Regions from separate parts of the Homo sapiens genome. Here all the other regions are linked to region 1. Evidence: promoter capture Hi-C in 16 types of primary human blood cells and fetal thymus (Javierre and others, 2016). All regions are on one chromosome and are shown on one strand. Each heading gives the region's core, a stretch centred on a gene start or on the middle of the fragment in contact. The rest is flanking DNA. Distances are from core to core; before and after follow the strand shown. Region 1 holds the start of TXNRD1 (thioredoxin reductase 1). Region 2 overlaps WASHC4 (WASH complex subunit 4). Region 3 has its middle 2.5 kb from the start of ALDH1L2. Region 4 overlaps ALDH1L2 (aldehyde dehydrogenase 1 family member L2). Region 5 overlaps ALDH1L2 (aldehyde dehydrogenase 1 family member L2). Region 6 overlaps NOPCHAP1 (NOP protein chaperone 1). Region 7 overlaps SLC41A2 (solute carrier family 41 member 2).

Region 1 (4,181 bases), core at 648-3,147:
ATCGTGCCACTGCACTCCAGTCTGGGCAACAGAGCGAGACTCCATCTCCAAAAAAAAAAAAAAAAAAAGCCTTTGGTTCAGTTTTATTTGTTTTCTGTGTTTAAGCAAATAAACACCCAGTGTTTTCCAAGAGCATTTTGACTCTGGGCTGCTCTCCAGAGAAGCAGGATATAAGCTTGTCCACAAACCCAAATGAAAACAAAGGGCCCACACAATTGCCACGCATCTGGTGACCAGACAAGTTCACTAAATCTCAGCTGGGGTGGAAGTTCCTTGAGACCAGGGAATTTGAGTCACCTTGTAACCCTAAACAAAGCCAGGCATAAGTTGGATGCTTACCATATGTTAGTTAATTGAAAGAAGGAAAAACAGAGCACTGCACTGATAGAGAACAGTGACTGTGCACCTGATGTGCCGCAATGTGGTTTGGTGTTAAAAAAAATCACTCTCATTCATTACTAGTAGGAGTTCAAATGGGAACCACAGTTCCAAAAAAGCAATTTTGGCAACGTGTAATGACAGCCTTAAAACTATAAACACAAAGATGTTCCCTGCAGCCTTATTCATAATTTTTAAAAATAAAAAACAAACTAAACATCTAATAATAGGCTATGTAATCGTCCAGTAGCTCTAGTGGATGGACTATTACATTATTATAATTATTCAAATTAATATTTTCCCGCTTCTTCCCTGCTTTCCTTCAAGAGGTGGGGGAGGCCACCTGGCCCAAGCTGAAGGCCAAGATACAAGAAAAAAATGCAAAGGTTCTATTTTGGCAGCGTTTACATGGGCAGGGTGTCGTGGGGAGGCTGGCGGAGGGAGTGGGAGCAGGTGACAGAGAATATAGGGTAAGTTAGAAGGCTCTCAGTGCTGGTAAAAATAAAATAGAGTAAAGTAAAGGGTGGGGGTAGAGTTGAGGGGGGCGTGATCAGATTTCTGTTCAAATAGGATGGTCTTTTTGCTGTGAACTTAAGACTGCTCTAAGGCCAGGCGCAGTGGCTGACGCCTGTAATCCCAGCACTTTGGGAGGCCGAGGCGGGCGGATCACAAGGTCAGGAGATCGAGACCATCCTGCCTAACACGGTGAAACCCCGTCTCTACTAAAAATACAAAAAATTAGCTGGGCATGGTGGCACACGCCTGTAGTCCCAGCTACTCGGGAGGCTGAGGCAGGAGAATCGCTTGAACTTGGGAGGCAGAGGTTGCAGTGGGCTGAGATCGCGCCACTGCACTCCAGCCTGGGTGACAGAGTGAGACTCCGTCTCAAAAAAAAAAAAAAAAAAAGACTGCTCTAAAAAATAAAGTGTATTAAAAAGAAACTACGATGTTCAGTGTATGCTTCATCTACGGTCAAAGAGGCAAAGACTGAAGTGACAGTGGAAGCCAGGTGGTTATCTGGGAGGCTTACAAGACTATGTGATAGTATGGAAAATACTAGTATTAAGTGAAATGCTGGATGCAAAACTATGCATAGAGGGGAAAAACTGGAAAGAAATAGTAAACACAGCAAAAGTAGTTTGTGTGAAGGATAAATTTTTTAAAATTATTTTTTGTAGAAACAGGGTTTCTCTACATTGCCCAGGATGGTCTCAAACTCCTGGGCTCAAGCGATCAATCCTCCCACCTCGGCCTCCCAAAGTGCACAGGTGTAAGCCACCGCGCCCAGCCGAAGGATAAGGATTTTGGGTGGTGCGCTCTTTTCTCCTTTCCATTTCTGCATTTTCCAATTTACCTTTAGCGACCGTTCTTTCCTGTTAAAAAAAAAAAATTCACGACCTTGAAGAAGATACACGGGCTATGACTTCGCTGTTGTCACCGAGCGCCCCGCCCACCGCGTTCTCCGACCCGCGGCCGGCAGGGGGCTCGCGGCCTCCGCCAGGCGTCCTTCGGCTCCGTCAGTTCCCACAGGGCCTTGTGCGACATGGGCTGCGCCGAGGGCAAGGCAGTGGCGGCGGCCGCCCCAACGGAGCTGCAGACGAAAGGCAAGAACGGCGATGGCCGCCGTAGGTCAGGTACGACCGAGGGCGAAGGCCTGGTCCCCAGGTCGACGGGCCGAAGCGGGCCTTCCGGCCGGGGTTGGGGATAAAGTGCCCCGGAGCCCTGGCCTTGAAGCCCCTCACTGGAGTCAGTGACTGACCGCGCGCCACGCTGGAGACCCCAGAAACGCTCCCCCAGGTCACCCCGGGAGACGGAGGCCGGCGGCCGGCCGAGGGCTGCCCCGCCCGCTGGCTGTGAGAGAGGTGGGAGGTGGAAGGAGGAGCGGGCCCGCCGCGAGGACCTGCCCGGAAACCTGTCGGAAACCGAACCGAGATCTCGGCAGCGACCCGCCTGATTTCGCTCAGGGCCCGTTAGGGCGTCCTCTTCCTACAAGCACCGTGTTTCCAATGAAAGGTTACGGGGGAAGCGACCAAACCGACAGCCGAGTCCGGGGGTGCCCCTTCACCTCTCCAGAAGCCCCCGGCCCACTCCCAGCATCCTCCTCCATCGAGAATCTTGTCCGACACGCCTTCCCGGCCCCCTTTCTCCATCCCCTTGAATTTTGGGCACATTTCTCCCACCATCATCCCGCTTTATCCTTTCACTTGTTCTTCCAGAAGAGAAAGCTCCCAGTCTCTTCTCCATTGTCCGGATAATGCCAATAATGGCTAGTGGTTACTAAGCACTGACATGAGAGGGGCCTTTGGAAGCACTAGACATGGGTAATAATCTTGGTTCATGTTTCCAGCCATACTGAGAGATTTATCATAAACCCCATTATACAGATGAAGAAACTGAGAAGCAAAGAGGTTATAAAACTTACCCAAAGCACACAACTAGTAAGTGGAAGAGCTGGGATACCAGTTGAGGCCATCTGACTCAAAAGCCCTGGTCATAGTCATATGGCCGCCTCCACCTTTTTTATAGGCTTGAGAAAGTGAGGCTCCAAAAAGTGCCTTGCCCAATGGCTAGAATTATTAAATGCTGTAGGATCTGCCTCTTTCAAAGGCTTACAGTTTAGTTACAAGGCAGCATATGGTGAAGGGCTAAAAGGAGTGGTAAAAACAGCCAAGTGGGGATGGCAGCTCCCATAGATGAGGTAGGATTTGGTAGAGGTGTCTGAAGGGAGAACATTCTTGTTAGGGGAAGCAGCCGGTGAGACCATGCTAGAGATAGGGAGGCCTGTATATCCTGCTGGAGTTAAGGACTTGGATTAGGGGAAGGGAAGAATAAAGGAACAGGGTAGGAGCAAGGTCAGGCAAGGTCCAGGTCAGGCAGCTAATTTGTGGCCATTAGTACAATGAAGGAGTTTGAGCAGGTGCATCCCAAATTGACGTTTCATGTGCCATCCTCAGGATCTTCTTGATATCTATGTCCTTCCATTTATTTACTGTTTTTCTTTAGCTACATTCTTTTTGTGTGTGGTTAAAAAAAAAAAATTTACCATCTTAACAATTTTGTTTTTTTTTTTTTTTTAGTTTCGCTCTCGTTGCCCAGGCTGGGGTGCAATGGCGCCATCTTGGCTCACCTCAGCCTCCACCTCCCAGGTTGAAGCGATTCTCCTGCCTCAGCCTCCCAAGTAGCTGGGATTACAGGCATGCACCACCACGCCTGGCTAATTTTGTATTTTTAATAGAGACAGGTTTTCACCATGTTGGTCAGGCTGGTCTTGAACTCCTGACCTCAGGTGATCTGCCCACCTCAGCTCCCCAAAGTGCTGGGATTACAGGCATGAGCCACTGCACCCAGCTGACCCTAACCGTTTTTAAGTATACAGTTTTCAGCAGTATTAAGTATATTCACATTGTTGTGAAGCAGATCCCCTGAACTTTTTCATCTTGCAAATCTGAAACTCCATGCCAACTCGTTAACTTTTCATTTGCCGTTTCCCCCAGCCCCTGGTATCCATCATTCTACTTTCTGTTTCTGTGAAATTTGGCTACTTTAGATTGCTTATATAAGTTGGTATCATACAGTGTCTGTCTTTTTGTGACTGGCTTGTTTCACTTAGCATACTTGTCTTCGAGTTTCATCTGTATTGTAGCATGCGACAGGATTTCCTTACTTTTTAAGGCTGAATAATATTCCATTGTGTGTGTGTATATGTACATACACACACACATATATACACACACACACACACAAAATGGAATATATATACACACACACACCACATTTTTTTTTTCCCGAGATGGAGTCTTGCT
Region 2 (4,181 bases), core at 1,182-3,681, 940 kb after region 1:
GTGACATTTGAGCAGGGACCTAAATAAGGTTGGGGAGTAAGCCACGTGCATCTGGGGAAAGAGTCTACCAGACAGAGGCAACAGTAAGTGCAAAAGCCCTGATTCGTTCACATTTTTGAGAAATAGGGGCTGGAATGGAGTGAGCAAAGATCTAAGTGGCAGGGCATGCTATCTGAACAGTAGCAGAGGGGTGCAAGATCGATGTCAGGATTTTGATTACTGAGGGTGGAAAGCCATTACAGCATTTTCAGAAAAAGCATGATATGGGGCCGGGCATGTGTGGCTCACACACTGTAATCCCAGCACTTTGGGAGGCCGAGGTGGGTGGATCACCTCAGGTCAGGAGTTCAAGACCAGCCTGGCCAACATGGTGAAACCCCATCTCTACTAAAAATACAAAAATTAGCCGGGCGTGGTGGCGGACGCCATGTGATCACAGCTACTTGGGAGGCTGAGGCAGGAGAATCGCTTGAACTGCAGAGGCGGAGGTTGCAGTGAGCTGAGATCATACCACTGTACTCCATCCTGGGTGACAGAGTGAGACTCTGTCTCAAAAAAAAGAAAAAGCACTATACGCTCTAACTTAGTTTTTAAAAATTCACTAGCAGCTCTGTAGATATTATACAACACTGGGGAATGTGGCAGGATGCTAAAGGTGAAAGTAGGGAAATCAGGAGGCCATTGCATATTGCAGTGCTCCAGCCAAGAGCTGGTGATGGATTGGATAGGAGGATATCTATGAAGGGGTGAATGAAAAGTGGGTGGATTCTGGCTACGTTTTCAAGGCAAAGTCAATATAATTTGCCCAGTCATTTTGATTATAAAATGTGAGAGAAAGGAGCCAGGGATGACTTTAAGACATTTGGCTTGAGCAACTGAAAGGATAGAATTGCCAGTTTCTTTGATAGGCAAAATTGGGGATAAAGATCCTGAGCTTGAGTTGGACATATGAAATATAAAATTCTTATTAGACATAAAAGTGTAGGCATCGGATAAAAAAACCTAGAGTTCAGAGGAAGAGTCCAGGCCAGAGATATAAATTTGGGAGGCATCAAATAAAGATTTCTTGATATCACTTCCAATTGTGTATGTGGCGGAGATTGAATCTCAATGTGAGAGGAGAAATTATTGATATTATAATTTTAAGCTTGACCATTTTAATGTAGTCAGCATTTAATGATTTTAGTTTATCAAATGAAAATAACATTTACTTTTAAATATTTAATATAGTTATATATAAGTATGTATGTTTATATTTTAAGTGTAGAAATATGTAACAGTTTTACTTTTTATGATAAGAACTGAAGTAAAATATAGCAAAATATTTTGGTTCTTAGGAGTGGAAACCTTGTAATTTACTACTGTATGTAACTATATTCCTATTAGAATTTAGAGTTATTTATATAAATATCTGATTTTTTTGTGTGGTTTTTAAGGTAATGCTATGGGCTATGTACGAATGATAAGATCTGGTGGTCTTCATTGTAGCAGCAATGCCATTAGGTATGGATGCAAACATCATTTTTGCCTTGTTTATGCCATTTTAAAAATTGTGTCCATTAAATATATGTTACAAGTGATATTGTAGATAAGGTGTTTGTTCTTGATATATTTTGAGATAAAATATGGAAGAAAACTATTAATTCTACTAGATTTTTCTCAAATTTTAAGACTGCAGCAGACTTCTGAAAATATTTCTCTTAAGTTAATTTATCAATATGGTTTATGAATGCATGTAAAGATTACATGATTTTAAGGATTAAAATATTCATATCTAAAATTCAATTTGGAACTAAAGTGGTGATATGAATAATATTACTGAAATGCACAGTTGTTTCCAAATACATAGTTGAAAATTTTAGAGTCCTGCAGTACCACTTTTATATCTGTGTCAATTGCACATATTTTACTTGACCTAATAAATGCCTTCCCAAATTCTTATGTAGATTTGTTCCTGATCTTGAAGATATTGTAAATTTTGAAGAACTAGTAAAAGAAGAAGGTCTTGCAGAAGAAACATTAAAAGCAGCAAGGTAATCTAAATTTGGAAATATAAAAAAGTGTGTTTATAAAAAACATTCTGAAGAGAAGACCAGAGGGTAATATGTAATTTTTATGCCACTGTTTTTATTATACAAAATTATGGCCTCAGTTTATGAAGTATAATTTTTAAGACTTCAGTATTCTAAGACCTTTCCAGCTTCTAGAACATGCTGTCCAGTATTTCAGCCACTAGCCACACATGGCTCTTGAGCACCTAAAATTTGGCTGGTCCACACTGAGATGTGCTCAAGTATAAAGTACATAACTAACCTTGAAGATTTAGTATAAAAGGAGGAATGCCAAATACCTCAATCATAAAATTCATTTCACCTATTTTCTTTTTACTTTTTAAAATATTTCTCTTCACCAACAGTGTTCTAGAATGCCAGTCCTTTCTTATATGTAATCTATAGCAGCACTGTAGCCACTACCATATATGGCCGGTAAACACTTAAAATATGGCAAATGCGACTGGGGAATTGAAGTGTAAATTTTATCTTAATTTAAATTTAAATAGCTAATGTCTGTCTTATTGAACAGTGCAGGACTTGAGTCAGTTGTGCATTTGTCCCATAACACGAGAGGCATGCAGAATTGGTAAGAATATGTTTAGAAAACTGTATGTTTTATTCACACTTATAGCAGGTTATTGAATCAGGCATGAAGGGGCACCCCTGGGCAAGGGGGAGACAATTTGATCAAAAAGAATAATGATAGATAAAAATCTGTTGAATAAAAAAAATCAATGAGTCATAATGATAAGAAGGGTTATCATAAGAAGATCATAATGATAAGAGAATGAAAGTCATTTCTTTATGGAAGAATGCTTGTTAAATTTAGGGGGGAAATTGTAACCATCACTGTAATACTTGAAATCAAGCAAGAATCCCCAGTGGTTTCTAAAACATTAGGTGAAAAGTTTTTAGAGAACAGAGGATTCATTCAGTAATTCATCCCATAAAATTGCTTATTAATTACAAAGGAGAAAACTGTCTTTACAGTGGAGAAATATATTCCACCTTGGCCAAGTGATCAAACTTAGCATCACCAGTAATGGAGCAGACAGATGTAATGTGGCCTCTTGATGCAATGTAATGTCAAGTACCTAGTTTGTATTCTTGCCAGAAATGTTTATCCTGAATTTATTAGGAGGAAATGTCCTGAAAAATTTAGAATGTGAGCATTTTATGAAACACTTGGCCTGGACAAAAAATACACGGAGATTGTTCTAGATTAGGAGAATAAAGAGACCTGATAATCACATGTAATGGGTGATACTTAATCATATCCTAGATAAGGAAAGAAACAGCTGTAAAGGACATTTGAGGAATAATTGGGGGACATTTGAACATGGATTGTATATTAGTTAATACTGTATTATATTCTTGGGTATAACAGTGTTTTGTGGCTTTGTAGAAAAATGTTTTCATTCTTAATAGATTCATGCTAAAGCATTAATGGGCTAAGTGATAAAAGGTCCACAACTTTCAAGTGTTTCAGAAAAATAGAGAAAACAGTTGTGTCAAAATGTTAACAAGTGGTGAATCTAGTTGAAGGGTATACGGGTGTTCATTATACTATATTTTAACTTTTTGATAGGCTTGAAATCTTAAAAAATAAAAAAGTATATGGGAAAATGCATGCATTTCTGTGAGAATAAGGCCCCAGCACAGAAGCTTTGCTCTGGAATAGTCTGTTAGATAGCTTAAGCTCTTTGCCAGATTACATAAGCCATTTACAAAGTTAAGCCATTTGAAGTCATGTGCCTGAAAATGGTTTAAATAGTTTCTGATGTGTGTCTCAAAGGAAAGGATCAGACCTTTACCTTATGTTAAATGATGCCATTCACTCCGAAAGTGTTGACCATTTAAAAAATATTTTGAAGCAGTGTGAGGAAATCAGAGAGTAGGATATTGTCTTCTAAGATCTCTAGGGTAAAGCTGACTGCTAGTTGGAAGATCCAGATTGGTGCAAGGGAGTGGTTGATTGAAGTCAAGGAAATGTAGGGTCATGATAATGAATAGATTATCTGCATAGACAGGGGAGAACTGGAGCAGGCATCCTAATCCTGCGTAATTGTAGGACGGTGGTTAAAAGGTTAGTAGATGTCTGCTGTTAGGAAGAAGTAGTTGAGTATT
Region 3 (4,181 bases), core at 556-3,055, 870 kb after region 1:
TACCAGTTACTCAGCCCCGCAGCAGTGTATACGGATCTACCTTATTAGTGGTCAATCTGACATCCCAAGTGCTGTCCATAGCACAGCCCGTAAAAGGCACGCCTGTAGACAGATAGGTAGTGGGGGCGCCTTCGCTGTGGAGGGATCCTGATGCCTACCTCGTAGGACGGTAGGCCGGGCGCGGTGGCTCCCGCCTGTAATCCCAGCACTTTGGGAGGCCGAGGAGGGAAGATGGCCTGAGCTCAGGAGTTCGAGACCAGCCTGGCCACCATGGTGAAACCCCGTCTCTACTAAAAATAAAAAATAATAAAATAATAAAATAATTAGCCGGGCGTGATGTCGCATGCCTGCAGTCCCAGCTACTCGGGAGGCTGAAGCACGAGGATCACTTGAGCCGGGGAGGCGGAGGTTGCAGTGGAGCTGAGATCATGCCACTGCACTTCAGCCTGGACAACAGAGCGAGACTCTGTCTTAAAAATAAATAAATAAATTGGTGCAAAAGTAATTGTGGTTTTTGCCACTGAAAATAATGGCAAACCCGCAATTACTTTTGCATCAACCTAATAGATACGTGCCCTTCTCCCTCACCTCTCTGGAAAAAACGCTCAGACCTGCTTTAGCTGGACGTTTATCTCAAGCCAGACTTCTTAGCCCAGCATTCAGGGCCGTCTGCAATTTGCCATTTTCTCTTATTTCTCACTGCTCTTTTGCATATGTAATTCTGCTTGACTGCAGTTCTTGCCTATTCCTTCTTGGACAATGTTTCCCAGAAAAGCTTGTCATCTGTCACTTGTAATTATCTTGGCACGACCGTTTCTTTTCTGAAAGGTACCGCTTACATGCTGCCTCCTGGAGGCGCTTTTTTCTGATTCTTTTCTCTCTTAGTCTCCTTATTCCCCATAAATAATTGTTCACTCCTCTTAACAGGAAATAATCTTTGTCTATGCATCTGTTATGGCTGTCTCAATCTGCTACTGGTATTTGTATACCTATTAACGTCTCTGTTGGAAGCTCCTTGCAAGCTAAGTCCATGTCTGATTAATCAGGATTTACAGTATCTAGCACTAACCAGAGCTTTAAAAAAATAATAATAAAATAAAAAATAACTTGTTAAAAAAAAACTTGTTGAAACGGATGAATGTGTTTAAGAGAGTAAGGAGACAAAAAAGAACCATCATTAAAACTTGGAGAATTGCGGTTGGGCGCGGTGGCTCACGCCTGTAATCCCAGCACTTTGGGAGGCCGAGGTGGGCGGATCACGAGGTCAGGAGATCGAGACCATCCTAGCTAACACGGTGAAACCCTGTCTCTACTAAAAATACAAAAAATTAGCCGGGCGTGTGGCGGGCGCCTGTAGTCCCAGCTACTTGGGAGGCTGAGGCAGGAGAATGGCGTCAACCCAGGAGGCAGAGCTTTCAGTGAGCCGAGATCGCGCCCCTGCACTCCAGCCTGGGCGACAGAGGGAGACTCTGTTTCAAAAAAAAAAAAACTTGGAGAATTGCAACAAACATCCAAGGTTTTGCTTTGAGCCCTACATCTTGCCAATTCAACCCACTTTCCTGACTGCATTTTGTGACTTCTTGCTTTTTTAAACTTCCAAATATTGATATTCCCTTTATTTATTCTGATCTGTGTATACTAGAAGGGTGCATAAGGAGGGGTTTTTTTTTTTTTTTTTTTTTTTTCCTGAATGAGGTTCCATAGTTATATATTACTATTCCCAAGTTTAGGAAATGTAGAATTTATGTTCACTCAAATATAATGAAATATTCATTGTGTTTACTTTTTCCCTGGAAGAATCAAAAGTATAGTTTCCTTGATAACTGGAAATTAGATCAGATGCAATTAGAGTTTGACAAAGAGACCAACCCCTGCCAATCTATTTCTATACCCAGCAAAAATACTCCTTAAAAATAGAGATAAGACAAAGCCATTTTTAGAAACAAAAACTTGAGAGAATTTGTCATCGGCAGACAGACAATAAAGGAAATATGAAAGAGTATCCTTCCAGCAGGAAAAAAAAATTTACCCACATGGAAACCTAGAAATGCAAGAAGCCCAACAAAAAAGGCAAAGACGTGAGCAAATTTAAAGTGAACATTGGACTGGACGTGGTGGCTCACGCTTGTATTCCCAGCACTTTGGGAAGATGAGGTGGGCAGAGTTCGAGACCAGCCTGGGCAACATGGTGAAACACTGTTTCTACAAAAAAATACAAAAATTATACAAAAATTAGCCAGGCATGGTCACGTGCCTCTAGTCCCAGCTTCTCGGAAGGCTGAGTAAGGAGGATCGCTTGAGCTGGCAGATTGAGGTTTCAGTGAGCTGTGGTTGTGCCACTGCACTCCAGCTGGGTGACAGGGTGAGACCCTGTCTCAAGAAAAAAAAAAGTGAACATTGACCACATGAACAATAATAAATTATTATAATTAATATAATAAAGTATTATGTTTATATATGTATACATGAAAATACACAAATATCCAAACAACAATAGAAAATTGTTGGATAAGTTTGTAGGAAAGAAAATAATCCCAGATGGAAACTCACAGATGAAAGAATGAATAGTAATGTAAAGGATTAATATGAGGGCAAATTTAAGTTAATATTAATTGTATAGAACAATAATAATAATGTTTTATGGAGTTCAAATATATATATGCATGTGCATAGACTATTTAATTCACTTTGTGCCATTTTTGTAAATACAATCATTTGAATAACTTTTTGTAAGTGTCTGGATTAATTTCACGCTTTAGAAAGTACATAGATGATGTGCCAAGTTGAAACCCAAGAATTCCCACACAAAACTCTATGAAAGTTAGAGTTCTATGTAAAGCTTGCATAGTAGGAGTGGCTAGGGTCTTGGGTTTACAGAATACTAAATTGGAATCTTTTTTATTTTTTATTTTTTGGAATTGGTGTCCCTGGAATGCAGTGGTGGGATCACAGCTCACTGCAGCCTTGACCTTCCCTGGCTCAGGTGGTCCTTCTACATCAGCCTCCTGGGTAGCTGGAATTCCAGGCACACACCACCATGCTCGGCTAATTTTTTTTGTATTTTTTTGTAGAGAAGGGGTTTTGCCATGTTGCCCAGCCTGGTCTCGAATTTCTGGCCTCAAGTGATCTGCCCACCTCCACCTCCCAAAGTGCTAGTATTACAGGCGTGAGCCACTGCACTTGGCCCTAAATTGGAATCTACTCATTCTGCCATAGACAAATGTTTTGTTTAGTGACTAATATCTGTGACATTAGGGGCCTTGTGCAAATATAATACGTTGATCAGGGATCTGTTTTGTCCTAGACACAACGTTCACTCAGAATTTTATGAAATTGCAAGTCATATAATTTATAAACTTCTAAAAATGTGTGTAGAACATTTTTACTTCCACAGTCAACTTCAAGGATTTTAGAACAAAATTCTATGGGTTTCCATGCCCTCTTCTTGTTTGGTTGCTTTTTGACTGAAATTAACATGTAGCCATATTGACTATTTGGAAACATTGCTGTTTCTCTCTATATTTTTAAATTTTGCTCTGCTGAATACTCTGTTTTACCATATATAAGAGTGATGTGAGCTAGGCTAGTGACTCACGACTGTAATCCCAGTGACTTGGGAAGCTCAGGCAGGAGGATCGCTTGAGGCCAAGAGTTCAAGACCAGCCTGGGCAATGTAAGGAGACCCCCATCGCTAAAACAACAACAACAACAACAACAACAATTAGCCGGGCATGGTGGCATGCACCTGTAGTCCGAGCTACTTGGGAGGCTGAAGTAGGAAGATCACTTGGGCCCAAGAGTTTGAGGGCACAGTGAGTTATGATTGCACCACTGCACTCCAGCCGAGTGACAGAGCAGAGACCCTGACTTTAAAAAAAAAAAAAAAAAAAGAGATGTTTTCTTTATAAATTTCTCTCTCTCTCTCTTTGAGACAGGGTCTTGCTCTGTCATCCAGACTGGCATACAGTGGCACAAACAAGGCTCACTGTGGCCTCAATCTCATGGGCTCAAGTGATCCTTCTGCCTCAACCTCCTGAGTAGCTGGGACCACAGGTATGCACCATCACACGTAATTTTTTTTAAAAAATTTGAGGCTGGGTGCGGTGGCTCACACCTGTAATCCCAGCACTTTGGAAGGCCGAGGTAAGAGGAACACCTGAGGTCACGAGTTTGAGACCAGC
Region 4 (4,181 bases), core at 487-2,986, 850 kb after region 1:
TTCAGATCCTGCACTCTTAACCATTACACTAAACTCCCTCCCTTGGTCACCCATCGAGCCCATGGATTTTTATTGGCACTTAGTATGTACCCAGACTCCTGCTTAACTGCTGAGATTATCAAGACAATCACATGAAGCCCTTGCCCCTAAGGAGTTCACAGTCTAGTGTTGGGGGGAATAAAGAGACCCTCACAATATATGATGTGCGATGCCAGAGGTAGGCAGAGTGTTGCTGGAACCCAGAGATGGGCCATCAGACCCTGCCAGTCTGGGCATGTGAGATCAGGAAACCTCCCCGAAGAGGTGAAACCTGAGAGCCTGGGCTGAGTCAATTACCCATGGATAGAAGACCCTTCAGGCCCTGCCCGCCTCTCCCGCCTCAGCTCTCCCCATGCCTGTCCTCACAGTTCAGACCCTGGCTTCACTGAACTCCTTTTGCAAGTCCTTGACCAGGTGCTGGAGTCTCTTATCTCTGGGGCTTCACCTACTTGTCTTGCTCTCAACCTGGTTAACTCTTCTCGAGCAAAGCAGTGAGCTTTTCTAGGAAGCCTTTCCTAACATGCCTGAGTCTCAGCCTCCATGATAGCGTTTATCTTACTGCACTGAGAATGTTTATTCACTTCTCTGCACTCCCCATAAAACTGCAGGCTCCTTAGATCAGGCGCTGGATTTAGTGTCTGCTGCACAATAAATGCTTAATACATGCTGAGTAAAGGGGAGAGTGAATCACAGACCTGCCTCATGACCAAGGAAGAACCATGGGAAGCCCAGATTTATCTGTAATATCTCTTACAAAGGTAATAATCGGGGAGGGGGGTGGGGGGAGTGGTCCCTAAAACATACCTGTCCATTTATCTCTGTCCAAGCTCCAGGGACTTTATCATGACCTCGAATCCAGTTATGTAAAACTTCGGCAGACTGGTCCCAAGAAATCTAGGAAGGCACAAAATACAGGCTGAGCCTCCTATGGCTGTGAACCTCAAAGGCAATAAAAACGCTTCTCGTCATCAGAGGCAGAAACACTTGTTATTGGGAAATAAAGGAATTTTTGCTTCTTAGTTTTATTTGGAGTAAGTATTTTGTCAGGTGGCTGATTTAGTAAACAAGAGACTTTATTAAAGGAAAATAAAAAGCAGAGGGTTATTTAAAGGGACAGTATGCTTTGTAAAGATGAAGTAGAGCGGGCTGTTGAGGGGAGTAGGCCAGTAGCTGTTGGAGAGTTTTATGTTGGGTTTTTATTAGGTTGAACTTTTTTTTGAAGTTCCCACCTCTGTTAAGTCTCTGCCTCTTTTTTTTTTTGTCTAGTTTGTTTGTGTCTGTCTTAGCTCTCTGCTTTGTCCGCACCTAGATTTTGTCTCAGGTTTATGGGACCCTCCATATTATTAGTTGGTGTGTATGTGTGGATTGGTGTTGGATATGAATATTACCTGATGCCTGTGTTGTTTACTATTGTCACTGCAGGGAGGTTGTATAGTGGCCAAATCTATACCTACTGCATCTGTGTGTTTTTTTGGAATTTCCTTCTCTGCCCTAAGCTGAACTTATGGCTCCAGGTTTTTGTTTTTTGTTTTTTGAGACAGGGGTCTCACTGTGTTGGCCAGGCTGGTCTCGAATGCCTGGTCTCAAGTGATCCTCCTCCCTCAGCCTCCCAAAGTGCTGGGATTACAGGCATGAGCCACTGTGCCCAGCGCACCTAGCATGCCAGATTTTTTAAGGAATATCCCCTTTGCCCTTTTCATTAGCATGTAGCTAGTGATATTTTGACATTTTAACTGCAGAGCGAAGGATTGTTGGGCAGACTGAAGAGGCGTTTCTGGGCATTTTTTATTTGCTTGTTTGTTTGTTTGTTTGCATAGTATCTCCTCTCCTTTCTATGCACATTTGACTAAGTGCCCACCCACTCCAGCATTAGAGATACTATTAATATGCAAATTTTGAGTGGTCTTCCAGACACGAGTCTTCCTAGACTTTATTTTCTTTAGGGGACTCCCCTCTCCTGCGTATGTCTGGCTACCTGTCTACTCTAACAGGTAGGGCTAGGGCAAGCTGGCTTACCTTTTGGCAAGATCATAGTATGTGGGGAACTACTGAAGGGTAGAGGGCCATGAACTCTGAGACGTGTTATTGAGTTGATATATAAATACCTCAGCATTTTCCTTTTTCTGGATACCTTCATATGTTGCCCCTTCTTCTGGCTGGGGTATACGAGGAGCTTTTCCATCAGCTATGAGTTGGACAGCTTCTACCTAAGGCCAAAGACATCACCTGTGTTACAGCCCAATGATCAACAATGGCATGGTCTATTTGACTAAAGTTTCTGCATAACAGAATTACTACCTATAAACCTGTTCAGAGAGTCAAGAGTATGATGATAACTACCATTTCTTCAGGTCCATCCTGACAAGCAGTGTGGTAGCTACTTTATGTAAAATATCCCTTGAAAACATAACACAAATCCTGCAAGGTGTATATTGTTATTCCTGTTTTACACCTGAGGAAACTGACAGAAAAAGAGCTAAGCAAGGCCGGGCGCAGTGGCTCACGCCTGTAATCCCAGCACTTTGGGAGGCCAAGGCAGGCGGATCACGAAGTCAGGAGATCGAGGCCACGGTGAAACCCCGTCTCTACTAAAAATACAAAAAATCAGCCGGGCGTGGTGGTGGGCGCCTGTAGTCCCAGCTACTCAGGAGGCTGAGGCAGGAGAATGGCGTGAACCCGGGAGGCAGAGCTTGCAGTGAGCCGAGATCACACCACTGCACTCCAGCCTGGGCGACAGAGCGAGACTCTGTCTCAAAAAAAAAAAAAAAAAAAAGAAAAGAAAAAGAAAAAGAGCTAAGCAATTGGCTGAAGATCACAGAGAGAGCTTGTAGGTGTCAGAAACAGGATTTGTATCCAGGTCTATCTATTGCCAATCGAAGTCTGCACTCTCAAAAATGACTCCCTTGTTTAAACAAACTGCCACCTCCCTTAGTGATTCACTGGAAATGATAGGAATATAATGATAAAATAAGTCTTTATGAGTTATTTTACTCATCATGATGATTCTAAAAAATGATACCTTACTGTATTTAATGAATTCAACTTGCTTTCTAGTTTAGGAGACCTGGAATAAAAAAAGTTAAAATCTATCCATGAGCTTGATTGCCTTTGGGAGGTGTCCTGCATTTTCTTCTCTGTTATATTTACGTTTGCCTTGAGTCGAGAGCCTCCCATTTTCACTGCGAGGCCCACGTGAGTTCAAGTTCTCAGATTTCTCTCTAAGGACTCACAGCTGCTGACCAACCCACCCAAGAGCACACGGAGGGAGCCACAGGGGAACAGAGCCAAGTTTACAGCTCATTCCACCCACCTCCATCTAGGCTATAACTAGGTCTAGAATCTGGGCTTCAGCAAATATCACTGAACACACAAAATGCTATGTTGATTGTAATGATCATTTTATGAGCACCTACCATGGGCCAGATGCTTTGCACAAATAGTGTCACTTAATTTCCACAACCACCCTACAAGTCAGGTGGTATTATCCATGCTGTATAGATGAAGAAACCAAAGCTACAGAGGCTAAGCGACTTGCCTGTGGTCATGCAACAAAGAAGAGGTAGAATGGAAACTTGAGCTTAGGTCTTTCTGACATCGAAGCCCTACTCTCTTAATCATTGAATGATACAAGCAAAGCACTGCTTTCCTCTCTCCTAAATCAATGGCTACTACTGTATATAATCTTGCTACTTCTTTCATACTAGCTCTGAAAAAAAATTAAATGACATCAAAATTATCAGCTGGAGCTTTCACTATTTGTGTAGGCTAATATTGCAATATTTTTATTTGATGGTATACATGTTTTGGGATTTTTTTTTTTTTACCCCAGAATACGTCTGGATAAATACAGCAACACCAAATTTCACCCTGTTACAGAGGCTAATTTAAAGTACTTTTAAATTTCCATAACAAATTACGTAGCAAAATTTCTTAAGATTCAATCTACTTCTTTACAATTAATCATTATAGGCAGGGTTGAAGATTCAAGCATTTGGCAAAAGAATGGAGCAGTTTAAATGCTACTGCATCCATTGGATCACTGCTCTCAGAAAAATAAGTCAGTTTCATAGACTAAGAAATTGAAAAATTCAGATTTCCATCCTAAATATACCATCCCATTAGTTAAAAAAAATCTAATTTTG
Region 5 (4,181 bases), core at 543-3,042, 820 kb after region 1:
TGTCTGGGAGACCAAGGTAGAAGGGATCCTTTAAGGCCGGAAGTGTGAGACCAGCCTGAGCAACATGGCAAGACCTCATCTCTATAAAAAATAAGAAAATTAGGTAGGTATGGTGGTGTGTGACTGTAGTGTCAGCTACTTGGGAGGCTGAGGCAGGAGGATCGTTTGAGCCCAGGAATTCAAAGCTGCAGTGAGCTGTGATCACCACTGCACTCCAGCCTGGGTGACAGTGTTAGACCGTGTCTCTTAAAAAAGAAAAAAAGAAAGAAAAAGGAAAAAGTTATTCATAGATAAAACAGATGGTAGAATGGTGATTACCATTGAAGCTGAGTGATGAGTACATAAAATTCATTTTGCTTTTCTGCTTTCTATGTATTAGACATTTTCCATAATAAAAAAATTTCAAAAATGTTGTGGTCAAAAGTTAATTCAAATTCTTTAGAAATTTTGGTTACATAAAAGCCTGGCAAAAGAATTAAACCTCTAACCAGACTACCGAAGCATTGGGAGAAAAAATATCAATTTTTAAAAGTACGCTGCTTATTTTTCCTTTCTTACAAAAGTATTTTTATTTAAAGCATTTTGAAAATACCTACCCCAAAATGCAAACAGAAGAAAAAAATCACAAAATTCCATTCCATGCCTCAGTGACCATTGTTTTTACCATTTTGATATACTACCTATTTGTGATCTGTCCTACCATAGCTTTTGCGTTGTTTAACATAGTTGAGATCATCCAGTGTATACAATGTTATACTTTATTTTTATTTCCATTTATTATTTTAACAACACTTTTCAATGTTATTAAAATTCTCTATGAACATGACTGCACAGTGTTCCATTACATTGACATATTTTAACAACTGCTTTATTTTGGACATTTAGATTGCTTACAGCTTAAAAAAAAATTGCTTTGGCGGACTCCATTTATAAATAATCCAGGTTTGTCATATAAAATATATAAATTTCACATTTATGTATCTTTTTGGTTTTTTACCCATACTCTGAGAACAATTTGGGCCACAGCTTTAATACAGGAAGTCTTTTGTGCTGAATTGTTAAAACTACCAGTAGGGCACAGAATTTCAACATAGCTTTGGTTTTATTGACTCTGGGCTTTAATGCTTTGGAAAGTATTTTATTGTATTCAAATATTTCAATACTCAGCAGTGATAAGTAGATTTCCCTTCCAAAGTTGATGTAGTTTTTCTCACTCAAAAAGTACCCTGTTTAAACAAAAATTGAAACCTAGTTTAACAGGATCTGCAGTGAATCAACATTTTAAAACCAATACCTCTTCATGATCTGTTTGCCAATAGGAGTGGATCCAGTGAAACCAAGTTTGCGGATGTCAGGATGTTCAGACAGACGTTGTCCTGCTATGCCACCTGTAGAATTAGGGAATAAAACGGGAATTAAAACATACTCAAGGCCGGGCGCGGTGGCTTACGCCTGTAATCCCCGCACTTTGGGAGGCTGAGGCAAGCAGATCACAAGGTCAGGAGATCGAGACCCGCCTGACCACCATGGTGAAACCCTGTCACTACTAAAAATATAAAAATTAGCCAGGCATGGTGGCACACGCCTGTAATCCCAGCTACTCAGGAGGCTGAGAGAGAATCACTTGAACCCAGGAGGCGGAGGTTGCAGTGGGCCAAGATCGCGCCTTTGCACTCCAGCCGGGGCAACAGAGTGAGACTCCGTCTCAAAAAAAAAAAAAAAAAAAAAAAAAAACCTTACTCAAATTCTTATAGTGAAGATGGCTTTAAATTCATTGAAGTAGATTTCTAAGCTCTCCTTGACACCTTAGTTTTACATTTTCTGTATTAATTACAAACTGATAAAAGTCTGAAATAATACCCTTTATGAAATTATCAGACTCCCAAAATAATGATGGGTAAGCCTTGATTTTTATCTTCCAGAGTAGTTTTTGAAAATCAAAATGGAACATCTTAGGGTAATTTTACATGACTGTACAACCCCCCTCCCCACTGCCACTCACCCACCACTGTATTTCCATTTTAAGATTTTAGCACATGGTAAGTATATTCATCCTTAACTGTTTGGTGAATTGTATTTAGTTTTAATACAGTTATAATTCAGGACAAGTCTCTAGAGGTAAAAGAGCCACTCAGCTACCCCAGTACCATTCATTAGTTATAGCACAGTCGGTCATTTAGTGGCTTACCTGAGCCTGGAATGATGTTGATGACCCCCTTTGGAAAGCCTGCTTTCACAGACAGTTCTGCAAACTTCAAAGCAGTCAAGGGCGTGACCTGAGGAGAAGCAAACAGCAATTACCTTCTTCAGGCCCTAACCTGACCTTTAGCCCAGAACCCAGTTTTCCCTTGATAGCTGCACTAGATCTCATTTTATTTTTATTGTACATTGTCTTATTTTTTTGCCATAATTTCAGACTTACAAAAAGATGCAAAAATAGTACAAGTATTCCTTATATACATTTCCATTCAGATTCCTCAAATGTTAACATTTTACTGCATTTGCTTTATCTTTCTGTATATATTTTTCTAAACTATTTTTTAAAGATAAATTTAAGGAATATCTGTTTCTGAACTGTTTAAGAATACGGTAAAGACATACCCCATACTTCTAAATACTTCTGTGTGCATTTTCTATAAAACAAGAAATTCTTTTACATAACCATAGTACAATCATCAAAATCAGGAGATTAACAATTGATAGAATACATGATTTGCAGACCATATTCAGATTTCACCAATTATCCCAATAATGTCTTACAGCAAAAGAAAATCCAACATCTGCATTACATTTAGTTCTATCTGTAGTCTCCAGTAATCTAGGAGAATTTCTCAGTTCTCTTTTCTATTTCATTACACTGACATTTTTGAAGAGTACAGGCCAGTTATTTCATACAATGTCTCTTTGTCTGGATTTGTCTGATGTTTTTGCATGGTTAGATTCAAGTTATGCACTTTTGGGAACAATGCCACCGGAGCGATGCTGAGCTTTTCTCAGGACATCAGGAGGCACGTGCTGTAGAATAGTTCCAATACTGGAAAGTTAGTTTTGATTATTTGGCAAATGTGGTCTGCCAACTTTCATCACTGTAAATTACTATTTTATACATTGTAGTTAACAAATATTTTGTGGGGAGATACTCCTCAAATTTTTATCCACTAGTTTTAGTGTCCATGGATAATTTCTGGATAATAATCCTAAAGTATCATGATGGTTGCCAAATGGTGATTTTCCAATTCCCTCATTCCTTTTACGTGTAGTAGTTGGCTCTCTACTCTAAGTGTTTTCCATTCTGTTCAATTAATTAATATCAGTGTGAACACAAAGATTCTTACTGTAATCAGCAGGTTATCATCGTTTACTATTGTTACTGATTTTGATGTTCAATTGTTCTAGATTTGGCTGAGGCAGTCCCTTCAGTACGGCCCCTTATCATTCTGACGTGCCCCTATTACTTTGAGCATTACATTGCTTTCAGGCCCAACAAGATATTTCAGATTCATCTTGATTCTTCCCTACTCCAGCTACTTCTCCAAGGAGCCCAAGTTTCTTTGAGTGAAGAATGGTATTTTAGAAACCAAGATATCTGGACATTATTGAGGGGTCATCGCTTCTAGGCCCTCTTAGCAGACAGAGCTGGGAAAGAGATGTATGTATACACAACACACACACACACGTCTACATGTATGTGTGTATCTATCCCTCATATACCTATATCCATTTCTTTATTTAGCTATCTAAATACATTAAAACCCATGAGTTTACACTGATACCTTTATCCGATATCTTAGGGTCGATTCTATCCTTCTGCCCTTTTTACATTTGTCATTCTCTTCTCCAAGAAAGAGAGACATGGCTCCCATTATCCACAATACATTTACTTATTTGCTTAATCCTAAAACATAGAGAAAGTAATTTGAGAATTGTTAAGCCATGTCCCTATGAAAAAGAAGCCTATTAATTAGAGTTTAATATGTATTTGGGTTTTTTTGTTGTTGTTGTTTTGCGTTGCCTTTATCCTGAGGACATATAGTCCAAAGTTAGTCAAAAGTGACTTGGGTTCATGCTTCCTCATTCTCTTCAATGGGGTCATGTTATTCATTTGAAATATGGCTTAATTTGTTTTGTTTATATTTAATTTTAGGGTTTTGGCCCCATCTTTGTTGATTATATTTCTTTTC
Region 6 (4,181 bases), core at 740-3,239, 780 kb after region 1:
TGAAAAGGATCTTATTTCTCCTTTGCTTATGAAGCTTAGTTTAGTCAGATATGAATTCTTGGTTGAAAATTATTTTCTTTAAGAATGCTGAGGGTGTGGCACACCAGCATGGCACATGTATACATATGTAACTAACCAGCACATTGTGCACATGTACCCTAAAACTTAAAGTATAATAATAAAAATAAATAAATAAAGAATGCTGAATATAGGCCCCCGATCTCTTCTGGCTTGTAGAGTTTCTGCTGACAGTTCTGCTGTTAGCCTGATGGGTTTCCCTTTGTAGGTGACTTGCCCCTTCTCTCTCACTGCCTTTAGCATTTTTTCTTTCATTTCCACCTTGGAGGATCTGATGACTGTATGTTTTAGGTTGGTCTGCTTGTGTAGTATTTCACAAGGGTTTTCCGCATTTCCTGAATTTGAATGTTGGCCTCTCTAGCAAGGTTGGGGAAGTTTTCATCAGCGATATCCTGAAATATGTTTTCAAAGTTGCTTGGTTTCTCTCCCTTTCAGTCACATCAATGAGTCATAGATTGGGTCTCTTTTCATAATCCCATATTTCTCGGAAGTTTTGTCCATTCTTTATTGTTTTTTTTCTCCAATAAAGAAAAAGATGTTTCAGAGAGCCATCTTCAAGCTCTGAGATTCTTTCCTCAGTTTGGTCAATTCTGCTGTTAATACTTGTGATTGCATTATGCAATTCTTGTAGTGTGTTTTTCAGCTCTGTCAGATCGGTTTAGTTCTCTCTTATAATGGCCGTTTTGTTTATCAGCTTCTGTATCATTTTATTGTAATCCTTAGATTCCACGGATTGGGTTTGACTTTATCCTGTATGTTGATGATCTTCATTCCTGTCTATATTCTGAATTTTATTTCTGCCATTTCAGCCATCTCAGCCTGGTTAAGAACCATTGCTGGGGAACTAGTGTAGTTTTTTGGAGGTAAGAAGATACTCTAGTGCTTTTGTCAGTTTTTGCACTGATTCTTTTTTATCTTTGTGGGCTCATGTCGCTGAAGTTGCTATCCTTTGGATGATTTTTTTTCTTTTATCCTACTTTATGTCCTTGTGTGTTTAATTGTGGTATAAAGTGGGTTTAGTCAACTGGCTTCATTTCTAGAAGGTTTTCAGGGGCCAAGGCTCAACTCAGGATTCCTGGACTGTATGCTGTAATTCTGGGGGGCTGATATCAGGCCCCTGGCTTTGTTCTCTGGCCACTGGAGGTTAGGTACCTGCTGTGCTAGAGGGGCCAAGATATTTCTGGACCACTGGTCAGAACACTTCAATGGGTGGTGCCAGCCAAAGTGCTTTGTATGGCAGTGGCAGTGGGATCTGTCCTCATATGCACATGCCAGCAATAGCAGTGGGGTGCGGTGCACACTCATCAGCTTCAGAGGGGTGCTGGCAGTTGCAAGGGTGCTGTTTTTGTGCAGGCATTTGTAGTGGCTGTGGTGTTAGCATGGGGGTGGGGCGCTGTGGCTGCTGCTAGATTTTGTGTGCCCTCTGTGCGTGTGCTTACATGGGTAGCAGTGGCCACTCAGGGTAAGGGGGCGGGCTGCTGGTCTCCATGCATAGTTTCACACCACTGGCAGTGTTGACACAGGGGCAGGGTACTGGTGGCTGCGGGACTGGTGCCAAATGTGCGCACGTTTATGCTGGCTGCAGTGGCTGCACAGGGCGCAGGGCAGGTCCACTGGTCACTGTGCCTAGTTTTGCAGCTGGTGGCAGTGTTGGTGTCGGAGTGGGGTACTGGTGGTCTCCGTACCTGCAGATACTCCAGTGGCAGTGGCAGCATGGTGGTCGGGTGCAGTGTGCTCAAGCCAGCAGTAGTGGCATGGCCAGGTGCACATGTACCCACACACTGGCAGGAAATTGGAGGCGAGGTCTGTGTACACAGGTGCTGGCAAAGTGATTCGGGGGTTGGCTGCATGCCAGCGTCTGCAGGCAAGGTGCCATGGGGGAGTCTGCAGTGGGAGGAGAGAGTGGGATCAGGTGGTCTGGTGCACGGTCTGTTGTGGGTGGGGGTAGTACTGGAGTTCTCTGCCATTCAGGCACGATCTGCCAACTCAGGTGCTATAGCGTAGGCCCCCAGGACGCACCCCACCTGGGCATCTAAGGCTGCACTGCAAGCAGGGACAGCCAGGCTGAGGCCCAGGGAGAGGTCAGGAAACTGAGGAGTGCTTAGTTCCGATCGGCCAGGTCTCATAGGCAAGACTGCCCTGCATTTTTCAAGTCTGATAGTTCCTCTAGGGTTGAAGTCTCTTAGGGGAGCAAGGTGAGTCATGGGTGATGGGCGTCCCTGGCCATGATCCACTACAGATGCTCCCGCACCAAAGCCTCTGGGCTCTGCACCAGCTAGAATTCTGCCCTACCACTTCTCTAAGCAGCTCTCCCTGCAAGCTCAAGAGTCCATGGGGGTCCTGGGGTCTCCTGCCAGATTCCAGAGGCCTGTGGTGGGAGTCAGTTGCTGCTTGCCTGCTCAACTCACCCCTTTTCCAGGAGTCGGGGGCCAGGAACGAGTCTTAGTGTGTGGTAGCCCCTTGCAGGGTTCCCCGCTTCCTCCCTCTTCAGCCCAGCATCTGTGTCTTCCCTTCATCCACTCTCAGTGCCCTCCCTCTGAAGATCTGCTGGGAGTGCACCAGTCTTCCTGATATCCCAGTCTCTTGGTGGCAGATGTTCCTTCTGGCTGCATCTAGCTGATCATCTTGCCTCCAACCTGTTCCCTTTATAGCATAATGTGTATAACCACATTTAGTGGAAAAGCACCTTACTATATTTAATCCAATGACATTATACAAATAATCACCGGTGCCCACATAGATAGTCCCCAAGTCTTGAGTATGTGATACCTGGAAGCATAATATACCTTTTGTAGGCATCACTTGGTTTGATGTTCTATATTTGATAGTGGTTAGGTTATTAATTGGAAAGGTTGGGATATTCCTTTCAGTGAGTGTAGGCAAGCAAATAGCAGTGACATTTAGAACATCAAGGATTGCTTTCTCTTCCTTTGGGGTTTCAGGGTAATTCTCTTCGGGAACTCAGAGAGGTGTTGGCATTAGTGGAGTTGTTTCCTGGTTTTTACCCATTAGCCCACAAACCCAAACAGTTGCTCTGTTTTTTCTGCTAGAGCATGAGCCTTACCTAAAGCCATTGCAAATTATGGTCCTATGGATTTTCCTGTAAGGAAAAGGAAAGATTAAGACAATAGGAAATAAGGGAAAAAGAAAAGGGACATAGTTATCATGATGACAGAGAAGAGAACTCTTGATCCATGATCAAATTCTTACCACCCATACTGCAGCAAAAGTCTTGAGGGTCTGAACTTTTGCTGCAGTGTGGATGGTAAGAATTTGGTATGGTCCCTTCCATAGGGGTTTGAGGGCAGTGTTTCACTGATGTTGTTTTCAGAAGACCCAATCTCCATGTTCCAGATTGTGAAATGCTTGGTTGTCCTCCATTGATAGATCGTGAAAGGCTTTTTTTTTAACCTGGTGAAAATATACTTTGGCATAATACATTAAGGCCTTGCAGTATTTAGTCATGTCAGTTTACAGGAGCAGGAGATATATGAGGTTTAATTATTAGGGGCATAGGTTTTTCAGTAACTATTTCATAAGAAACTAATTTATTTTGTATTTTCTGTTGGGGTGGATCTAGTTGCCCATAAGGCCAATGGTAATACCTTTGGACGAGGCAATTCAATCAATTCAGTTAACTTTACCAATTTCAGTTTAAAGTTTCATTTGTTCTTTTGAGCTTTCCAGAAGATTAAGGGTGTTAGGGATGATGGTAATACCATTGTGTTCGATTAACTGTTTTAGCTGTTTTATAACTTGTCCAGTGAAACAGGTTCTTCTATTGCTGGAAATTCCTCCAGGGAAGCCCCAGAAGGAAACATACTTTCTAATAACTTATTGTCATAGCATTGGCCTTCCTACATGATAAAGCTTCTATCCGTCTAGAGAACACAAAGACTTTTATAAGAACATATTGTTATCCCATTAAGGGTGGCAATTGATGAAATCCATCTGTAAACATTCAAATGGTCCAGGAGGCAGTAGAAATGTACCACCTAAAATTTGGATTATCTTTCCAGGATTATGAGCTTGATAAACCAAACATTAGTTATAAGCCATTTTAGCAATTTTAGAATAGTCATCCCACCAATATTTTTTCAATT
Region 7 (4,181 bases), core at 941-3,440, 720 kb after region 1:
TGTGTGCTACTGGCCCAGGAAACCTTGCAGTGGGGCAAGATGTGAAGGTGGAAGACAGTGATAGTGATGATCTTGACCCTATGGAGGCCTATGCTAATGTGTGTGTGTATTAGTCCATTTTCATGTTACTGATAAAGACATACCCAAGACTGGGCAATCTACAAAAGAAAGAGGTTTAGTTGGACTCATGTGGCTGGGGAGGCCTCACAATCACGGCAGAAGGCAAGGAGGAGGAAGTCACATCTTACGTAGATGGTGGCAAGCAAAGAGAGAGCTTGTGCAGGGCAACTCCCATTTTTTAAAACCATCAGATCTCATGAGACCCATTCACTATCATGAGAACAGCACAAGAAACACCTGCCCCCGTAATTCAGTCACCTCCCACTGGGTTCCTCCCACAACATGTGGGAATTACAGGAGCGACAAGATGAGATTTGGGTAGGGACACAGAGCCAAACTATATCAGTGTGTGTCTTAGATTTTAATAAAAAGGTTTTTAAAAGTAAAAGAAAAAAACAAAAATTGAAAAAAGTATATAGAATAAGGAAACAAAGAAGGAAAATATTTTGTGCAGCTGTACAATGTGTGTGTGTTTTAAGCTAAGTATTATTACAAAAGTCAATATTTTTAATATTTAAAGTTTATAAAGTAAAAATGTTACAGGCTGGGTGCAATGGCTTATGCCTGTAATCCCAACACTTTGGGAGGCCAAGGCAGGAGTTTTCCTTGAGTCCAGGAGCTCAAGATTACAGTAAGCTATGATTGTGCACTGCACCCCAGTGGATGACAGAGCAAGACCCTGCCTCTAAACAATTTTTTAAATTAAAATTGAAACAATGAAAAATTAAAAGTTGCAGTAAGCTATAGTTTAACAAAGAAAAATATTTTTGTACATTTTGTGTAGCCTAAGTGTGTTTATAAAGTCTGCAGTAGTGCACAGTAATGTCCTAGCCCTTAACATTCACTCACCATTCACTTACTGACTTACCCAGAGCAACTTCCAGTACTGAAAACTCCATTCATGGTAAATGCCCTATACAGGTGTATCATTTTTTATTTTTTATACTGTGTTTTTACTATACGTTTTCTATTTTTAGATACACAAATACTTACCATTGTGTAACAACTGCCTATAATATTCAGTAGAGTAATGTGCTATACAAACCTGTATAACACGTTACTGTACTGTAGCCTAGGAGCGATAGGCCATACCACACAGCCTTGGCGTGTGGTAGGCTCTACCATCTAGGTTTGTGTTAGCATACTCTATGATACGCAATGATGAAATGCATCTAACAACACATTTCTCAGAATTTATCCCCATCATTAAGCCCTTCATTAAGTGATGCATGACTGTATTTAGTGCCTTAGATTCTTGTTATCAAAGTGTGGTCTTGGGTCCAGTGGCATGGCATCAACTGGGAGACTAAGAAATGCAGGACCTCAGTCAGCTCCCATCCCAACTCAACCTCCTGAATCAAAGTCTGTACTTTAAATGGTATCCCAAAGGATTTGTGTTACTTTGAGAAGCACCTCCCAATACATTCAAAAAGGAATCATTTGATATTACCAGGCTTTCAAGTGTGAACAAGGATGTAAGCAGTGGTAATGCATACAGCCCTACTTGTGCAAGTATAAACTGCCAAAAGCACTTTGGAAAACAATTTGGCATTATCTACCAAAACTGAGAGGCATGTGCCCCACAGTCCAGCATTTCCATCCTTAAATCCCTGCCCTAAAGAAATTCACACTGTACACCGGAAGACACATGAAAGAATGTTCTTGGTAGCATTATCCATACTAGCAAAAAAAAAAATGGAATTAATCCATGAGAAAGGATAAATTGTGGCATATCTATACAATGGAATATAAGAATAAGGATATGACAAACACACATTTCAAGAGTGCTTACATTTGGTGAAGTGATACAAAAGCACCCAGGAGGTTCCAAAGGTATTGGTTATATTTTTTAAGCTTGGTGGTGGATACCTAGTGTTTATTATTGTTCTTCAAATTGTGCATATACAAGACTGCTTCGATGTGATTAATACTGTGATGGATGTTATTATTACTCCCCGTTATTGGTCCCCTCCTACAGGAGGATTCTCGTCTCTACCTGTTGCCATGTTATTTGCAAGGACTGTAGGAGAATTCTACTTCCTCATCTCCATTAGCATCAGGTTTGGCCATGGGACTCTCTTTGGCCATCAGAATAAGAGCAGCAGCAACACTTACAAACAGAAACAATTCAGCTATGTCTCTTTGCTCCCTCTGTCATGAGAATGGCATGTCCTAGGCAGTTGCTGCTTCTTCAGACTGGGTCCCAAGACAACGACAGATGGAGAGATACAGCAACCACAGCCACCCCACAGCAATCAACAGGGTACACATAACAGGAGAAAGAAATAAAGCTTTGTCCCAGAAAGCCACTGAGAGTTTGGAATTGTTTATTATCACAGCATGACCTAACAAAAGCTAACTTAAAAAGTATATGTTTTAAAAAGTAATCTGACCCACAAATTCCTATCCATTTTAGTTTAGGAGAGTCTCTCTGATATACTGAGCACTTAAAGATTGCAGTCTATGGACAAGGAGTTTTAAAACACTGGCTTCCAAACATTTGAATCTCAAAAACCAAAATTTCCTCCCAAAATTTTACAAAGTTAAAAACAATCTTTTCCTAAAAAATAAGTATACATTTTAACACCAAAAATGTAGAAAGGACAAAATCTCAGACTAAAGGGCAGTCCTTTTCACTGAACACATTTAGATTTATGGAAAAGTTCATTTCATGTTTCCTGTGAGACCTTTGTCATAGTTTACCACTGGTTTATAGAGTCATGTCAGGGAATCATTGACTTAAAGGAAAATAAGACCAGACACTCCTTATGAATTCAACTTTACTTACAAAAATAAAAAAGGGTCTTGTTCTGTCACTCAGGCTAGAGTGCAGTGTTGCAATCATAGCTCACCAAAGCCTCAAACTCCTGGACTCAAGTGATCCTTGCACCTTAGCCTCCCGAGTAGCTAGGACTATAGGTGCAGGACACCACACCCAGCTAATTTTTAAATAGTTTGTACAGACAGGGTCTTGCTATGTTCCCCAGGCTGGTCTCAAACTCCTGGCCTCAAGTGATCACTTCCTCCTGCCTATGCCTCCCAAAGTGCTGGTATTACAGGCACGAGCCACCATGCCCAGCCATAAAATTGCTTATTTTTAAAAATAAAGAAAACAAAGTATATTGTATGTATGTGGATTTACCAAACCAGAATATTGGAGAAACTCTGCCTATCGTACTGAAAGAGGCATTCTGTTCCATTGCAAAAGTTAAATAACAATGCTTAGGAAATCCAGTAGAGCTGAAAGTCAGGAGACACAGGTCATTCCTAATTACTAAGGATGGTATTAAATCAGAGTTTAACATTTTGTTTTCTTCCCACAACAATAAAAGAAAAAGTTTTAATGCAATCTATTACCAGTAATTATTTCATTTAGTTGAATATCCCAGAACTTGTTGAGCAGATATGTATATTTATATAAACATACTAAGATCCACAGTACTATCAGACACACATACACACATACAGACACACCTAGAAATAGACTTATTTTATGGTTATTATATATTCTTACTTTTGCCACTCTGCAAGGGTACCTTGTTCTTTTAATTTTTTCTTAAAGTATACCTCCTCTACGTTTCTGTTTCCTATTATTATTATTTTTTTTTTGAGACGGAGTTTCACTCTTTTTGCCCAGGCTGGAGTGCAACGGCGTGATCTCGGCTCACCGCAACCTCTGCCTCCCAGGTTCAAGCGATTCTCCTGCCTCAGCCTCCCGAGTAGCTGGGATTACAAGCATGCACCACCACCCCGGCTAATTTTGTATTTTTAGTAGAGATGGGGTTTCTCCATGTGGGTCAGGCTGGTCTTGAACTCCCGACCCCAGGTGATCCACCTGCCTCAGCTTCCCAAAGTGCTAGGATTACAGAAGTGAGCCACCGAGCCCAGCCTTATTATTTTTATTTTTATTTTTTTTAAAAAGGCTCACCTGGGGGGGAGGGGGGAGGGATAGCATTAGGAGATATACCTACTGTTAAATGACGAGTTAATGGGTGCAGCACACCAACATGGCACATGTATACATATGGAACTAACCTGCACGTTGTGCACATGTACCCTAA

What was found. Contacts are between HindIII fragments. The CHiCAGO score rates a contact against its expected background, and 5 or more counts as called.
Region 2: a contact is called between a fragment that was not itself captured here and the fragment with the promoter of TXNRD1 in region 1, in 1 of 17 cell types (M2 macrophages). The highest score is 5.4, in M2 macrophages.
Region 3: a fragment that was not itself captured here is called in contact with the fragment with the promoter of TXNRD1 in region 1 in 10 of 17 cell types (endothelial precursors, monocytes, total CD4 T cells and 7 more); the score reaches 8.8 in endothelial precursors.
Region 4: a fragment that was not itself captured here is called in contact with the fragment with the promoter of TXNRD1 in region 1 in 14 of 17 cell types (total B cells, naive CD8 T cells, naive B cells and 11 more); the score reaches 11.4 in total B cells.
Region 5: a fragment that was not itself captured here is called in contact with the fragment with the promoter of TXNRD1 in region 1 in 15 of 17 cell types (neutrophils, total CD4 T cells, activated CD4 T cells and 12 more); the score reaches 11.8 in neutrophils.
Region 6: a contact is called between a fragment that was not itself captured here and the fragment with the promoter of TXNRD1 in region 1, in 5 of 17 cell types (neutrophils, naive CD4 T cells, naive B cells and 2 more). The highest score is 7.1, in neutrophils.
Region 7: a fragment that was not itself captured here is called in contact with the fragment with the promoter of TXNRD1 in region 1 in 1 of 17 cell types (total B cells); the score reaches 5.4 in total B cells.

The regions. Positions count from the first base shown.
Region 1 is chr12:104,213,882-104,218,062 of GRCh38, forward strand. It overlaps TXNRD1 (thioredoxin reductase 1), which reads left to right and starts at 1,898. Exons shown (of 17, transcript NM_001093771.3): 1 at 1,898-2,012. The coding sequence starts at 1,922. RefSeq lists enhancers at 1,674-2,290, 2,291-2,906 and a silencer at 1,761-1,850. The HindIII fragment of the contact is 5,942 bases long and covers 174-4,181 here.
Region 2 is chr12:105,155,290-105,159,470 of GRCh38, forward strand. It overlaps WASHC4 (WASH complex subunit 4), which reads left to right. Exons shown (of 33, transcript NM_015275.3): 27 at 1,437-1,503; 28 at 1,947-2,033. Among named protein-coding and RNA genes, the nearest start is that of WASHC4, 50 kb to the left of the region's middle. The HindIII fragment of the contact is 2,572 bases long and covers 1,146-3,717 here.
Region 3 is chr12:105,084,875-105,089,055 of GRCh38, forward strand. No RefSeq gene overlaps it. Among named protein-coding and RNA genes, the nearest start is that of ALDH1L2, 2.5 kb to the left of the region's middle. The HindIII fragment of the contact is 2,064 bases long and covers 774-2,837 here.
Region 4 is chr12:105,064,424-105,068,604 of GRCh38, forward strand. ALDH1L2 (aldehyde dehydrogenase 1 family member L2) reads right to left here. Exons shown (of 23, transcript NM_001034173.4): 5 at 2,145-2,246; 6 at 844-933. Among named protein-coding and RNA genes, the nearest start is that of ALDH1L2, 18 kb to the right of the region's middle. The HindIII fragment of the contact is 7,481 bases long and covers 1-4,181 here.
Region 5 is chr12:105,038,419-105,042,599 of GRCh38, forward strand. ALDH1L2 (aldehyde dehydrogenase 1 family member L2) reads right to left here. Exons shown (of 23, transcript NM_001034173.4): 16 at 2,189-2,276; 17 at 1,295-1,388. Among named protein-coding and RNA genes, the nearest start is that of ALDH1L2, 44 kb to the right of the region's middle. The HindIII fragment of the contact is 6,154 bases long and covers 1-4,181 here.
Region 6 is chr12:104,997,314-105,001,494 of GRCh38, forward strand. It overlaps NOPCHAP1 (NOP protein chaperone 1), which reads left to right. Exons shown (of 4, transcript NM_152318.3): 4 at 1-4,181. Among named protein-coding and RNA genes, the nearest start is that of NOPCHAP1, 13 kb to the left of the region's middle. RefSeq lists an enhancer at 1,776-2,276. The HindIII fragment of the contact is 3,914 bases long and covers 33-3,946 here.
Region 7 is chr12:104,936,302-104,940,482 of GRCh38, forward strand. The region is part of intron 1 of SLC41A2 (solute carrier family 41 member 2); the gene reads right to left. Among named protein-coding and RNA genes, the nearest start is that of SLC41A2, 20 kb to the right of the region's middle. The HindIII fragment of the contact is 437 bases long and covers 1,973-2,409 here.